Regions from separate parts of the Homo sapiens genome. Here region 2 is linked to region 1. Evidence: promoter capture Hi-C in human tissues and cell types (Jung and others, 2019). All regions are on one chromosome and are shown on one strand. The core of a region is centred on a gene start or on the middle of the fragment in contact, and the rest is flanking DNA. Distances in the headings are between cores, read along the strand shown. Region 1 holds the start of ANXA3 (annexin A3). Region 2 overlaps BMP2K (BMP2 inducible kinase).

What was found. Contacts are between HindIII fragments. The study calls those that stand out against the background at their distance.
Region 2: a fragment that was not itself captured here is called in contact with the fragment with the promoter of ANXA3 in region 1 in 1 of the 25 tissues and cell types used here (neural progenitor cells).

What each region holds. Positions count from the first base shown.
Region 1 is chr4:78,548,031-78,553,019 of GRCh38, forward strand. ANXA3 (annexin A3) reads left to right here and starts at 3,740. Exons shown (of 13, transcript NM_005139.3): 1 at 3,740-3,829. RefSeq lists enhancers at 4,105-4,856, 4,160-4,989. The HindIII fragment of the contact is 13,286 bases long and covers 1-3,853 here.
Region 2 is chr4:78,859,201-78,864,189 of GRCh38, forward strand. BMP2K (BMP2 inducible kinase) reads left to right here. Exons shown (of 16, transcript NM_198892.2): 8 at 384-487; 9 at 2,189-2,268. Among named protein-coding and RNA genes, the nearest start is that of PAQR3, 78 kb to the right of the region's middle. RefSeq lists an enhancer at 3,255-3,549. The HindIII fragment of the contact is 4,055 bases long and covers 999-4,989 here.

The DNA of each region.
Region 1 (4,989 bases), core at 2,490-4,989:
CCGTCTGAGAAGTGAGGAGACCCTCTGCCTGGCAACCGCCCCGTCTGAGCAGTGAGGAGCCCCTCCGCCCGGCAGCCGCCCTGTCTGAGAAGTGAGGACCCCCTCTGCCCGGCAGCCACCCCGTCTGGGAAGTGAGGAGCGTCTCCGCCCGGCAGCCACCCCGTCCGGGAGGGAGGTGGGGGGTCAGCCCCCACCAGGCCAGCCACCCCGTCCCGGAGGGAGGTGGGGGTTAGCCCCCCACCCGGCCAGCCGCCTTGTCTGGGAGGGAGGTGGGGGGTCAGCCCCCCGCCCGGCCAGCCGCCCCGTCCGGGAGGTGAGGGGTGCCTCTGCCCGGCCGCCCCTACTGGGAAGTGAGGAGCCCCTCTGCCCGGCCAGCCGCCCCATCTGGGAGGGAGGTGGGGGGGTCAGCCCCCTGCCCGGCCAGCCGCCCCGTCAGGGAGGTGAGGGGCGCCTCTGCCCGGCTGCCCTTACTGGGAAGTGAGGAGCCCCTCTGCCCAGCCACCACCCTGTCTGGGAGGTGTACCCAACAGCTCATTGAGAACGGGCCATGATGACAATGGCGGTTTTGTGGAATAGAAAGGGGGGAAAGGTGGGGAAAGGATTGAGAAATCGGATGGTTGCCGTGTCTGTGTGGAAAGAAGTAGACATGGGAGACTTTTCATTTTGTTCTGTACTAAGAAAAATTCTTCTGTCTTGGGATCCTGTTGATCTGTGACCTTACCCCCAACCCTGTGCTCTCTGAAACATGTGCTGTGTCCACTCAGGTTTGAATGGATTAAGGGCGGTGCAAGATGTGCTTTGTTAAACAGAGGCTTGAAGGCAGCATGCTCCTTAAGAGTCATCACCACTCCCTAATCTCAAGTACCCAGGGACACAAACACTGCGGAAGGCCGCAGGGTCCTCTGCCTAGGAAAACCAGAGACCTTTGTTCACTTGTTTATCTGCTGACCTTCCCTCCACTATTGTCCTGTGACCCTGCCAAATCCCCCTCTGCGAGAAACACCCAAGAATGATCAATTAAAAAATAAATAAATAAATAAATAAATAAATAAATAAATAATAAAAAAAATAATAATAAAATGTGAAATAATTAGGAAGTGGTTAATTTTGAGTACCTATTACCTTTGCTTTTAACGTAATTTATTCAATTGTATTTATTTAACTTGTAATAATGTCTACATTAATACTGGCTGTGAAATAACTGAAAATTCAGGAACTGGCTTTCACATGCTGGTATAACCCAGCTCCAACACATCACTGTAACAGCAGCTATGTATTCAACAGCCACAATCACGTAGTCGGTCTTTCCTTCACATTTTACCATATGTTCTAAATATATCTCAATAACTTTGCTTTAAAAATTTGTATTTGGCTGTTAAATTGTTCTTTTGATCAGGATGCTATAGGAAAATTCCCTTTTTACTAACCTGTAAAGTTCTGTGTATTCAGAATAATGAAACTTTTATTAAATAACCTTTTCTGAATTCTTTTTCTGGATAACCATAAACCTGGATTCTAACAGCATCCTCTAATATTTCCTTCCAAGAAAACTCATCCTTTGGGGAAAAAATAGTTTTATAATATGCCATAGCATGTTTCTAATATAAATGGTGGTAATTGGGCTGTTGATACAACTAGAAAAACTCAAAAAATGATAAAAGTGCATTTGTTAAAGTTACCATCAGGAAATCAAAGAAGTTAAATCCTGAATGGTTTAAACAATTAAAATAAAGCCTACATGTAAAACATCACCTGTTACTCATTTTCTTCTGGCTATAAATCTAGCCCTATGACTTCCTAGTTGCCTGGAATACAACTCGTAGAACTTACTGAGTCCCTCTGAGCCTGTGTCTGTATCTGCAAAATAGAGGCAATCATACCTAATTTACAGCTAGTTGGTAAGCATGACATAGATCACGTACGTCAAGTGCATTACCCAGTGTCTGGCACAAATAATAATAAATATTTTCCCCCATTTCATGCTAATCTCAGAATTTTTTGAGGTAACATGGGATTTAACAGTTTATTGTGGTGAAGTCTGAATGGGAGTCAGGAATTACTATGCAGAACAGAATGCAGAACACCATCCTATCTTCTCTCTTGCAGAAAGCCCATCACTTCGGATTTGTAGATCTGAGAGGGCTCCCAGGGCACTGGCCTTTTAAGCATGACCACTTCTGCCTTCTCCGTTGTAGCTCCTCTTAAACCAGTGGTTCTCAAACTTTAGGATGCATCAGAATCACTTGATGGCGCAGGGTTTCAGGGAATTTGCATTTCTAATGAGTTTCTAGGTCCCAGGACTCAGCCTTAAGGACCAAGACTGTAATCTCTTCAACTCACACTCAAGCAGCTCCAGCCATGCTTATCCTCTAAAAATCCTCTGTGCTCCACCTGTTCACCCTACCTCCTCTCAACTCCTAGAAACCAGTGATTTTTTTTACTGTCTCCGTAGTGTTGCCTTTTCTGGAATGTCATATAGTTGGAATCATAGTGTGTAGCATTTTCAAATGGGCTTCTTTCTCTTAATAATATGCATTTAAGTTTCTTCCATGTGTTTTTATAGCTTGATAGCTAATTTCTTTTCAGTGCTGAATAAAATTCTATTGTATAGATGTATCACAGTTTATTTATCCATTCACCTACGAATTACATCTTGGTTGCTTCCGACTTTTGATACTTAGGAGTAAAGCTACTATAAACATCCATGTGCAGGTGTTTGTGGAGGTAAGTTTTCAAATCCTTCGGGTGAATACATAAGGGGCCCAGTGATGACTGAGTGCAAGCAATACTTTTTACTTACGTGGTCTCGGATAAATCACTTCACTTTTCTAAGCCTCAGTTTTCTCTTCTGCAAATTGTGATAAAAATAGCACCTCCTAGAGTTCCCTTGAAGATAAAAGAGGTAAGGTATTCAAGCACTTCAATGCCTGATACTCAATACATGGTAACTTTTTCTACATCCTTCAGCACACAACTGCTCATAATTCCCTCATACGAGTAGGGCTTTAACCTTTTAGCCTCGATGATTTGTTTTGCTCTTCCAAATGCCTAGAATGCCCTTCCAGGTTACCGTCTCCCTGAGCCTTTGGTTGGAATCCTCATACCAGAGGGTCAACACGTTTAGTAGAGGAATTACTGAAATAGTTGGGTTCCAAACACTAGCTCTGGCATTTACCTTCTGTGTAAATTGGCTGAAGTTACCCAACGTCTCTGTATCTCAATTTCCTCATCTATAAAATGGGGATAATAGTATCTACCTCATAGAGTTGTTGTCGGAGCCATTTTAATGGCAAAAACCGCAATTACTTTTGCACCAACCTAATAAATCCGCGCATATTCTTAAAGAAGTTAGAACAGTGCCTGGTACAAAGTAAATGCCAGATCAATGTTATTAATGTTAGGTGTCCGCCACCTATGCCACGCAGTGAGTTCCTTAGGTATAGGGACAGTCTAATCTCCGAATCCACACTGCCTAGAACAAAATAAGCATTGCAGTACATTTGAGAAAGTAAAGGTGTAGTGGAAACCGAGAGCGAAATGAGGGCGTAGGGAGAAAAGGGTGGGGAAGCTTAGAGACCGGTGAGGGAGCAGAGCTGGGGCGCCTGTGTACAGGGATAGAGCCCGGCGGCAGCAGGGCGCGGCTTCCCTTTCCCGGGGCCTGGGGCCGCAATCAGGTGGAGTCGAGAGGCCGGAGGAGGGGCAGGAGGAAGGGGTGCGGTCGCGATCCGGACCCGGAGCCAGCGCGGAGCACCTGCGCCCGCGGCTGACACCTTCGCTCGCAGTTTGTTCGCAGTTTACTCGCACACCAGTTTCCCCCACCGCGCTTTGGGTAAGTTCAGCCTCCCGGCGCGTCCCCGCGAGCCTCGCCCACAGCCGCCTGCTGACGGGTGGCTTGGGGAGGTCGCGGCGCCTCGCCCAGTTCCCCCGCGAGTGCAGCTCGACCCTGGGCAGGGCTGGCGGCTGGCGCCCGCGCCCGGCCCCAACCCAGCTGCGTGGGTGGGGAGCTGGAGGGACCTCAGTCCTGCATTTCAGAGTCGAGGAGACTGGGCCCACGGGGGGGAAAGTGCCGTGCCATGGGTGGGTCACCCAGGTCTTGGTGGGGCCCAAGCTGATACTCAGCTGTCCTCGCTCCCTGAAAGCTTCGCTTATTACAGCTAGCAGCGTAAGGGATCCACTTAGCCATCTCGGCCTCCCCAGTCCTAAAGGTCTAGGGGACAGAAAAAAGCTGGGAGTCGGAAGGTTCCTCGGGTCCCCGGCATGGCAGACGGGGCTGGCTCAGAGGTCTGCTCTGTGGACTTGGAATCGCACCCATCCTGTGAGCATCTTCTCCCCCTCACATAGGCAATTTATTTTATTTTACTTATTTTTTTTAGAAGGTAGAAAACAGTGGATTTGCATATTGAGGGTTGGAAGTTCAAGAAGTTTGCTTTTTCCTGAAAAGACTAACCGTTTTCTTTGCAACAGAATCCTATTGACTAGATATGAATCATTCCCTTGGTATTTGAGTCACCAGGTGGAAGATTTGGATACTTGATTGCAGATGACCATATATAGGAAAGTATGCAGGTGCTGGGAGGTTCTGGGTCGCTGGAGGCCCCTCTGGCTACTGATACGAAATTGCATAGCCCAGGCCGAATTCTTTCCAAGGATTTGTGTTCAGCACTGACAGCAAGACCCTGCCCTCCGGGAAAGATACATTTACTATGTTCACCAACATCATTTTTTAAAATGTAACTAATTAAAACGTTACTCCATGAAGATACCACCTTTGGTTTTCACGAAGACGGAAAACTTCAGACTGACCAGAAAGGGAATTTTTAAATGTAAAGAAAACCAGAATCTTGTTCCCAGAACTCTGTGGTTGTGTAGAGAAACCTGTTTAGAAATAACCGTAGAGGAGGAAGTAAAAGGAAATGATGTAATCCCTTTCAGGAAAGGATATATTGAAATTCTGTTTAAGTCATTTGGCCTTCGCTGTGGAGTAATTCT
Region 2 (4,989 bases), core at 1,776-4,275, 310 kb after region 1:
TGGATAATAGTAATAATTATTTTGAATAGAATTATCTTGAAGGACCTTTTTACTATGGCCTTGGAACTTTCTTGAATAATTCCCCAGTGTTCACTAAACTCACTTTTTCTTTTGTGTCACTTTTTCAATAGAATAATCAAGTTTGTCATTCATACTTCTAGTGTAGAGCTGTTCTGTGATTGATCTACCCTTAGCTTGGGATAATGCTTTATTTATAAAATAGCAATTTCTGCATTTTCTGTAGGCATTAATAAAGTTTGCTAGAATCATCACTGATCTTAGAGTGGAACAGAAAATACATATTTTTTATCCTTATAATGTGCCCCTAAGTAGTATAATGTGTGTTTCATAAAACTTCTTAACATTTTGATCTATTCTTGCAGGGTTCATGCTTGAACCAGATCCGGAACATAGACCTGATATATTTCAAGTGTCATATTTTGCATTTAAATTTGCCAAAAAGGATTGTCCAGTCTCCAACATCAATGTAAGTAGATTTTCAAGTAGGATATGAATTTAAAATTCATTTTATCGTATGTGAATATATTTACTTTCAGAGTTACTTTTTTTTTGTTGCTGTTGCTAAAACTCAGAGTTTCTTGTTTCATGACAAGTGATCTGATTGTGTGTTTGATATTTGTGGTATAAAGCTTCAGTACCCAAACTATGCACTGAGATACCTTGGGGAGCTGCAGCAGACTCAGGCAGAATATTTTGCATTTTTGAGGAAAACACAGGGACATCTTTCTGACTTAGCACAAAACTAATTTTATTAAGTTATTTGGGCCTAACAGTTTAATAAACAGGACTGTTAGTTTTTTTTTTTTTTTCTTAGAAGTGTTGTAAACAATTACTGAGACACGGAGCACTGTTAACTGAGTAAGTTTGGGAAACTTTGGTATAAAGAGCACAGGCCTTGTTAAGTGGGAACTAAACAATGTGTACGCATAGATATAGACAGTGGAGTAATAGACATTGGAAGTCAGAAAGGTGGGAAGCGGATGAAGGATGAGAAGTTACCTAATGGGTACAATATACACTATTTGGGTGATGGTCATACTAAAAGCCCAGACTTCACCATTATGCAGTATATCCTTATAACAAAGCTGCACTTGTATCCCCTAAAACTACAAAAAAGTTTTTTTTTAAAAAGCACAGGCAATGTAAATAGACCCAGATTCAGTTTTGTCCTTATCAGTGACTGACTTTGAATCTTTTGGTAAGTTACTTTAATGTCCATTTCTTTTTCTGTAAAACAAGGATAGTAATTATAAGGATTACATGTGAAACCCAGTGCCTAGTCCATGGAAGGTGCTCAGTTGGCAATAGTTAGTATTATTCAAAAGCTTTCAATTTTATTCACTGACTGTACAGTGCATTTAACTACTTTAGGTGAATGGTGTATGGCAAGTCTCTGCCAATCTTAATAAAGGTTCTGCAATCATCACTGATTATAAGCCATTCTTGACTTTGTAAAGATCATTCTGGCCTGACCTGTTTCTGTAGGGTTTCCTTTATGTGTAACTTAATCTACCCCACTAAGAAAAAAGAAGGAATGTGGTACCTTTCCTTTTTTTTTTTTTTTTTTTTTTTGTGAAGCCCTCGCCATATTGATGTACTCTTTTCTCTGTTGAAGCTGAAAGCTTTGCAGTTCTAAAAGTAGATAAGTAGACTCATTCGACATTTACTCAGCAAGTATTTATTGAGTACCTACAAAGAACTAAACATTGGGTATAGACAAATAAACAAGGCCTTCTGCCCTCATTTTCCAGGCCTTACATTCTGTGTCTTGAAAATTATCTGTAGTATGTAGAAACAACACTTAATTCTTATCCTTGGTGTTTGTTGCTTTTTCCAAAATGTAAAATAGTTATTGATTTACGAGTGTAATATAATCTTTCTTTTTACTCAAGATTTACCCAATTATAAATGGATACAGTGGTGTTCTTCTGCTTATTTTCCAAGGTTTCTGTGGCACATGAATATGAAATTGACATTTGTGTAACATGTAGTGATATTTGCAGATTAGATCTGGCAAATACATGTGAATAATTTATAGGTATCTGATGTGAAAGTAATAGTGTCTCATAGTACTTTTAAAGTTCAATGATATATCCATAGCTTACAAAAACTTTCTGCAATTAAAATAAAAAACTAAAATGAGACGTTTTATTTTTTTTCTTCCAAGAATTCTTCTATTCCTTCAGCTCTTCCTGAACCGATGACTGCTAGTGAAGCAGCTGCTAGGAAAAGCCAAATAAAAGCCAGGTAGGCAAAACTATGCTGAAATTGAAAAGGCATTAAAAAAAATGATAGGTCTTGTTTTTAATCCTAGCAAGTGTAATTGATTAAATATCATCTTCATCCACAAAGAATGTTGTGTTGCTTATTGTATGTGGTATAATTGAGATAGCAAATACAAAATAAGCTTTTAAAAATATTAGATAAGGAGTCTGGCATCATCTCACTGGAACTGTTCACTCTATGACAAGTGATTATTTAACTGATGATGTGACAGCGGGTCTTTTTTTTGGACAGGATTTGTCATTTTCATCACATAGCAACTCTAGTTTAGGAAATACTATGTTTTGAGTTTATAGATGTTTATTTTTTTAATTTAAGGAAAGAAAAAAATAGCTCCTACAGGTAACTAGAATATATAGAATATGTATGTACTTTGTAGAATTTGTAATGAGTGATTATAATACTTTTTAAGGCTGGTATATGTTTTCAATCTTATTTTTCAGAGTATTTATTATATTAATAATAAGTTTGAACTATATTATGTAAGTTAAGACTGAATCTGTTAATGATTGATTTTTCCCCCCCTCACACTTTTTTGAATTTAAAAGTTAATAAGCAGGATTATATCTTAGATTATCAGACAGGTATAATACTACATTTGGGGAGATTTCTTGGTCACAGCAATTTTGTATTGTATGCTATTTATGCAAAGTTTATTTGTTTACACAATACAAAAATATATTTGTTCATATGCTTTTTATATGCAAGATGTAGACAATTTAAACACAAAGAAAAAAAAAGCAGTTTTTATTTCCAAGGAGTTCACGTTCTAATTGACAAGTAAACGATTACAACCTGATAGATATTAGGCTACTTTGAGAGTGTGGAGGAGGGGAAAGACTGGGAACAGAGAAAACAGGAGCACATAAAGGATGCTTTCCCTGCGGATGGGAGTTGCTGCACTCTTCCTTGAATGATGAATAGTCAATCACTTGGAAGGGTGTGGAGTGAAATTATAGCAGGCAGGCAGTTTAGGCAAGAATGACTATTGTGAAACTACAGGACTAGGACAAAAGGGGACATATACAGGAGTAGTGGGAAATGAAGCTGGAGAGGTAGATAAATGCCAATCATGAACAACTTTGTTTATATATCATGCTGAGAAATTTGGACTTTGGCCTATAGGTCAGTTAATTTTCAACCTTCTAGTCAGTTCTACTCTTTGAGACTTGGTTGTGACTGTGTTGTAAATGATCTGTTACTTATACATTGTTAAAATTTCATTTGCGAATGACTTATTTTAAAAAATGGTGTTACTTTAAAAATATCTTCATTCACTTGAATTTCAAAATGTTCTTTTGAGAAGAGGTGAAGGTGTAAAGTTATATCTAACTTGCAGGAATCCAGGTTGAACAGCAATTGGTCTTATCTATGACATAGCTTTAATTAGCATCCACTGTTATAGTTGAGTGTTAATTATGAATTATTGTAGGATTTGTCAGTTGAATTTTATTGTGACTTCTGTTTTTTAAAATAATTAGTAAATAATTAAATCTTTGAGAAAGTAGGTGCAGATTTTTAAAAAAAGCGTAAGTCAGCTGAACAAGAATGATGATTTGATTATTTTTTCACCCTAATGCAAGTTATAGCTTTAGAGTTACAAGACAATGAAATAGTGCTATTAAAATTCACAGTGCTTATTTATAGTATGTTAAATCTGAACATTATGTATATTAAAAAATAAGGTTGATTGGTACTTATTGGTTACTAATATAAATTTACTCTTTATGAATATTAGTGAAAACTTGAAAAAATCTAAATGTATACAAAGCTTAATATTAAAAAATTTAGTTTTTTCCATGTAAAGAGCACATTTTGGGAGGAGAAATCATTTACTAGCAGTTTCATTACCCACGTTTTCAAAAAGCGCCTGTGGGTTTCTCAGCTGCCTTCAATCTGTGGTATTCTTTGCCTTCTTAAAAGGTCGCTCTCATCTCCCCAAACTTTGCATCTGCTCTTAGTATGGTTTAAGATGTGAAATTTATCTGACACATGTCTTAAAGATTGAGACACTGAGAATCACTGGCCTGGCAGATGGAAACATTGAAGGATTTTAAGCAGGAGAGTGTGAGTCTGAGTTCTAGGAAACCTGTGATGATTTTGTTCAGGTGATGGCAAGGAGAAAAGAAGGGAAGCAGAAAAACAGCTCTGTGACTGTTGTAATAGTGAAAATGAGACTGTACAGCAGTATCGATGCAATAATTACTGTTTTTAACTTCAGTCGATTTTGTATCTTCCCTATGCCTAATCTGCCCAGGCATTTTCTTCCCATTCCTTCACATAGAATGCCTGGTTTCTTTGTCACTGCCTAATAAAGTCAAACTTATTATGAAAATTTTAAACCCCAGTTTCTACCTGAAGCCTTCTGTAGCCAAATTAGGTTAAAAGTACAATTACATCTCCATAAATTCTTGACAGCACTAGCTTGGCACTGATGATTTTTACTATCTTATATTTATTACATTTCCACTAACATATGCCCTGTCTTCCTAGGTATGCTGTAAATTCTTTGAAGACAGGGTGTTATGCAGTGTTTTGCTGGATATCAGTAAATGTACAATACATATTACTGTATTGATAAAACAGAGACATCAGAGTGAACAAAGTATACAGACTTTTAATATGCTTCTTAGGGCTTTTGCTATGCCTACGTGTGTTGTGAATCTGTAAAGAGGGTTTAGACCA